2 separate regions of the Homo sapiens genome follow, and region 2 is linked to region 1. The links are contacts of gene promoters, found by promoter capture Hi-C in human tissues and cell types (Jung and others, 2019). All regions are on one chromosome and are shown on one strand. The core of a region is centred on a gene start or on the middle of the fragment in contact, and the rest is flanking DNA. Distances in the headings are between cores, read along the strand shown. Region 1 overlaps EZH1 (enhancer of zeste 1 polycomb repressive complex 2 subunit). Region 2 holds the start of CCR10 (C-C motif chemokine receptor 10).

Region 1 (2,700 bases), core at 128-2,627:
CTGTTGGTGCTTCTTGTTGGTTCACTTAAAAGGAGAACATGATCATTAAGTGATAGCTTCAGATAGCTGTGACTTGGGTGAAGAAGAAAGTAGAAGAACTGATAGAATAATCATTGCTATTCATTTCTAATTATATGTCTCATGTGAAATTGGGATCATGCCAATTTATATATATGTATATATCAAATTTTATATCCCTTTTTATTTAATCTTATGAGTACTTTTCCATGTCACTAATGTTTAATTTAAAATTTAATAGTTTAATTATACTATATGTCCAGGGACATAGTGTATTCTCTTTTATTGTATCATAATTATAGTATCAGTGTAGTTCTTCAGCATCCACTTCATGATAGGATTCTTCTATGTTCAGGCCTCTCTATGAACACTCTTTTCACCTCCAAATTCTTATTTTTATTTTTAAAATCTATTATTTATTATTTTTTTGAGACACAGTCTTGCTCTGTTACCCAAGGTGGAGTGCAGTGGCACAATCTCGGCTCACTGCAACCTCCACCTCCCTGGTTCAAGTGATTCTTGTGTGTCAGCCTTCTAAGTAGCTGGGACTATAGGCATGCACCACCATGCCCAGCTAAGTTTTGTATTTTTAGTAGAGTTGGGGTTTTACCATGTTGGCCAGGCTGGTCTCAAACTCCTGGCCTCAAGTGATCCGCTCCCCTCGGCCTCTCAAAGTACTGACTGGGATTACAGGCGTGAGCCACCTCACATCCAGATTCTAATTGGGACTGTGGATTTTGTTGTTAATATGTAGACTACTCTAACTTCCTTATTTACTGGTAGCATATATCAGATAAGTCCAGATAGCACTGATGTTTATATATCTCCAAACAATCAGTGGTTAGGTTAACAAAGCAGCTGTAATCAAAATGCTATGACAAAAGGAAAAAAGATCACACAGATTTGTTTACGTGTTCTGATAATCGCACTCAGGAGCTTTTTATCATTTCCAATTCAGGCAACAAAAAGAGTTCCAAGAAACAGTTCCCAAATGACATGATCTTCAGTGCAATTGCCTCAATGTTCCCTGAGAATGGTGTCCCAGATGACATGAAGGAGAGGTAGGGAAAGCTGTCCCACTTAGGCCATATACAGAGTGCTCGGACAAAACCTTTATTCCCTCCTAATTTTTGGTTAGTAAAAAGCTTTGTTTATGGTAAGGGCATTATGATTTGCCCGCAATTTGATTATTTCTTGCTTACTCAATTACCTCTAAATGCCCCCCTTACTATATTAAGGGTCATCGTATACTGGCTTTTGAGTGAGTCTGGGCAGAGAACATTTACTCTGCCATTTTTCTGGAGAGTTAACTCCAGCACCATCTTAACAAATCCTTCCCTCCCCTTACTTTCCAACATTTGCCCAACCCAGCATAATTACAATGGTGGACCCACTCTAGTTATCTACCATTCTCTTATCAACCAGACCTATAAAAAACACCCATCCTCCCTTGGCAGACCGTAGGTGAGCTACTGTCAGTACCCAATCTGTATTTCCTCAGTGGAGGCAGTTCCTCGGAGGAACTCTTATCTCTCTTTTCTTAAATAGGTATCGAGAACTAACAGAGATGTCAGACCCCAATGCACTTCCCCCTCAGTGCACACCCAACATCGATGGCCCCAATGCCAAGTCTGTGCAGCGGGAGCAATCTCTGCACTCCTTCCACACACTTTTTTGCCGGCGCTGCTTTAAATACGACTGCTTCCTTCACCGTGAGTGGGGCTACTCTGTTTGAAATGCTCTCCTCTCTTCCATCCCCAGCCACCATTTCCTTCTCTTTGTTCTGGTTTCTCGTATAGAGTTCCTGGCTTCTGTTCTAACGTTTTACAAAGGGCCAGTTCTATTTTCCCTTGCTCAATTATAGTGCAACATGCTTTGCATGATAGGGACAGACTAACTAGCAACTTATCTGTCCCTCAGTACCTCTTAGCTTTGAAAGCATTGTGTTGATGTCAGAAATGACTGAATTTTGTGCACCCTGATGGTAGCCGTTTATATCGAATTCTAACTCCTACAATAGCTCTCTAATTCACTTTTGTTTCTCCCCATCTTGTCAAGTGGATAGACCACTGGCAACAAGACAGTTTTTGTTTTCCAGCTTTTCATGCCACCCCTAATGTATATAAACGCAAGAATAAAGAAATCAAGATTGAACCAGAACCATGTGGCACAGACTGCTTCCTTTTGCTGGTATGTTCTTAAGCTGTTCTGGCATTATTAACTTCATTCTGGGAACACAAGCCACGTGAGCCAGTACACAGCACTCTGGGGGTCATATAGCACAAATAAAACATGGCTTTTGCTCTTAAGGAGCTCCCCAGTTACTGTGGGACCGCTCTTAAGGAACTCCCCAGACATGGTAGCACTATAAAGTTAGTCTGATGGAGTGCAGATTCGAAGATCATTAAAGGCTTGCCTGCTCTAAATATCATCTGCTTAGATTTCAGAGCCTAAAACTGTATTGTTAGAATTGGAGCAAAGTGTATGCTGGGGGGGTGGGTACACACTCTAGTTTCTTTGCTATCTTGTTATAAATGCATATAACTATGAGACGAATAGCACGTGATGATGCTGATGTCTTGTTGTGATCAACCAGATGGACCGTTCCCTGATGGACAGACCTTAAGAAGCAGCATAAATGGTCTGGCATACCTGTGGGGAAGCCATATATTGAGAGCTAGA
Region 2 (2,766 bases), core at 168-2,667, 37 kb after region 1:
CCAGCTCCAAAGTCCAGCCTTAAGCCCTGGCAAAACCTTAATCCTAGTATCGGTCACCAGTATACACTTATCCCCCAGCCCTAGCCTCAAACCCAGGCACCAGCTCCTGCTTGGATCCCAACCCCAAATCCCTGCCCGCTGACTTCATCCTCTTCCCAGAGCCCAGCCCCAGCCCCGGGCGCGCGCGGCAGCCTCAGAGCTGCAATGCGGAGCGCGGGGGAGAGGCAGGAAAAGATGAGAGCCAGCGGGCGCGCGCCGGCCGGGAAGGACCCGCGACCACCCAGCCGCAATGCGGTTCGGGGCCGCCCTGCAGGCTCTGGACTCCTGGGCCCAACCCCACCTGCCTCCAAGCCCAACACTCACAGTAGCCCCAGCCCTCGGCTCCTGAGACCGCGGCGAGCAGGATGCAGAAGAGCCGGAGATGCATCATGCAGGGCTGACGGTCCCGGCAGCCGCCTCCCTGTGAACGGCTCCGGCTAGGGCTCGAGTTCTGGCTTGGGCTCCAAGCTCTCCTCCTGGGGTTTGCAGCAGACCGCTCTCTCCTCCTTACCCACCCTTCCCTCCCTCTCTCCTTTCGCCCCCAAGCGCTCTGTCTCTCCTCTCTCTTTTCTCTCTCTCTCTCTCTGGTTCCTGGTCCTCCGCTCTTCTCTCTCTATCCTCTCCTTTCCACCCTCTTTCCTCTCACCTCCCCCCTTCCCCAGCCTCTGTCTCCTGGCACGCGCCGGTTTCCCGGACCCCGCGCAAGCGCGTGCCTCAGCCCTGCTGCGAAAGGGCGGGGGTAGAGAGCCTCTCGCCACCGGGAAAACCCCAAGTAACCCGAGGCTGCCCGGGACTAGGGCCACAGGAGTGAGGACAGGGAACCTAGGGCCAGAAGCATCCTGAAAATTTCAAGAAAAGGGAGGTGGTTTGGGGGAGGGGTGCCTGGAAATGGAATGAAGGGTAAGTAAAAGAATCTTAACATTTTCGGAAGGCAAATTATGCTCTAGGAGTGGTGCTGGGCACTGTGAATTTAGCATTTTTGCCCTACTCCACTTTGCAGATGAAAAACCTCAGGCTCAGAGAGGTCAAGAAACTTAGTCAATATCACACAGCAAATGATTATATTCCGAAGCCCGTTCTTTCTTCACTGACAAAGACAGTAAATTATTTTTTCTTTCTTTCGTTCATTCTTTTTTCTTTCTTTCCTTCCTTTTTTTCTTTCTTTCTTTCTTTCTTTCCTCTTTCCTTCCTTTCTTCTTCTTTTTTTTTTTTTCGTAAAATCCAGATCCTGCACAAGAGAGTGAAGTCTTTTGGAGGAGGTGGAATGGGAAAGTGACCCCGTAGACCCTAATCCCCACCTCCCTCTCGGCCCCTCTCCCCGCCTCTTCCTTCCTGTCCCGCTAGTAGTTTAACTTCTACCCCCTGTGGCTATACCTCAGAAACCTGTGTAGCCAGAGATGGGGACGGAGGCCACAGAGCAGGTGGGAGTGGGGGCAGGGAGGGGGAGAAGGGTTACAGAGAGGGAGGAGACAGGGAAGGAATGGGATTCCCCACCTGGCAATGGGCCTCTGCCATCCTATGGCTTATTCAGGATTCTTGGCGCTGTCTCAGACTAGGGGTCCTCCAGATAAATGGGCTGGTGGTGTGAGGCTGGGGTTGTGGGACAGGGACTAGGGCTGAGGGGAAAGGCGGGTTGAACCTAGAGGTCCAGGGTCCCACCTGGGCCCTGAAAACCTGAGTCCCAACCCTGGAGACCCCCTTGGCATGAGTGGTTCAGTGTGCTGGTATTGGAGGTACAGGGAAGGTGGGTATGGAAGGGAAAGAAGAGAAACAGAAACCCACTCCAGACGGAGGTTGGAGTCCAGGGCTCAGGTCTGAGGCAAAGCCTGCATATGGGCATCCTTCCAGGAGAGGGCGCTGCAAAGGGAACTGAAGCTGTAGGATTTATTAATAATACAAACTTTGGGCTGGGCGTGGTAGCTCAGGCCTGTAATCCCAGTACTTTGGGAGGCCAAGGTGGGCGGATCACCTGAGGTCAGGAGTTCGAGACCATCCTGGCCAACATGGTGAAACCCCATCTCTACTAAAAATACAAAAATTAGCTGGGCGTGGTGGTGGGCGCCTGTAGTCCCAGCTACTTGGGAGGCTGAGGCAGGAGAATCTCTTGAACCCGGAGGCGGAGGTTGCAGTGAGCCGAGATCGTGCCACTGCACTCCAGCCTGGGCGACAGAGCAAGACTCTGTCTCCAATAATAATAATAATAAATAATAATAATAATACAAACTTTGTATTATGGCCTTTGGAGAACACAGGTTCTCCCCATCCATTATTTTCCATATTGCCATCTTCACAGCAAACCTTGAGAGGTGGGCTGGTCAGGATTTATAATCTCAACATTACAGGTTAGGTAACTGAGGTCTAGAAAGAGCAAGTGGCTTGCTCAAGGTCACCCAGGAAGCTGGAAGCAGAGGTAGGAGGGGTGCAAGGGAAGCCAAGGCCTGCTGAAGGTGTGCTAGGAAGAGTCTGGAGAAGAGCTTATGTCTCCCCGTGTACTGTTACATCTGGCCACACAGGAGCTCTCAGCTTGGAAGGCAAGTGTGGGCGGGGGAGTTGTGTGGTCAGATGTGTCTCATAAGATCCCGCCTCTCATTTGACCCTCCCAGGTTTCCTGGGGCCATTACTCTGGGGATGAAGAGGACGCATACTCGGCTGAGCCACTGCCGGAGCTTTGCTACAAGGCCGATGTCCAGGCCTTCAGCCGGGCCTTCCAACCCAGTGTCTCCCTGA

What was found. Contacts are between HindIII fragments. The study calls those that stand out against the background at their distance.
Region 2: the fragment with the promoter of CCR10 here is called in contact with a fragment that was not itself captured in region 1 in 1 of the 25 tissues and cell types used here (mesendoderm cells).

The regions. Positions count from the first base shown.
Region 1 is chr17:42,717,484-42,720,183 of GRCh38, reverse strand. It overlaps EZH1 (enhancer of zeste 1 polycomb repressive complex 2 subunit), which reads left to right. Exons shown (of 21, transcript NM_001991.5): 8 at 977-1,079; 9 at 1,567-1,730; 10 at 2,117-2,208. Among named protein-coding and RNA genes, the nearest start is that of MIR6780A, 11 kb to the right of the region's middle. The HindIII fragment of the contact is 8,991 bases long and covers 1-2,700 here.
Region 2 is chr17:42,680,494-42,683,259 of GRCh38, reverse strand. CCR10 (C-C motif chemokine receptor 10) reads left to right here and starts at 1,417. Exons shown (of 2, transcript NM_016602.3): 1 at 1,417-1,460; 2 at 2,643-2,766. The coding sequence starts at 1,437. CNTNAP1 (contactin associated protein 1) reads right to left here and starts at 729. Exons shown (of 24, transcript NM_003632.3): 1 at 364-729. The coding sequence starts at 430. RefSeq lists enhancers at 275-324, 585-634, 578-1,196, 2,415-2,766 and a silencer at 1,735-2,029. The HindIII fragment of the contact is 6,302 bases long and covers 1-2,766 here.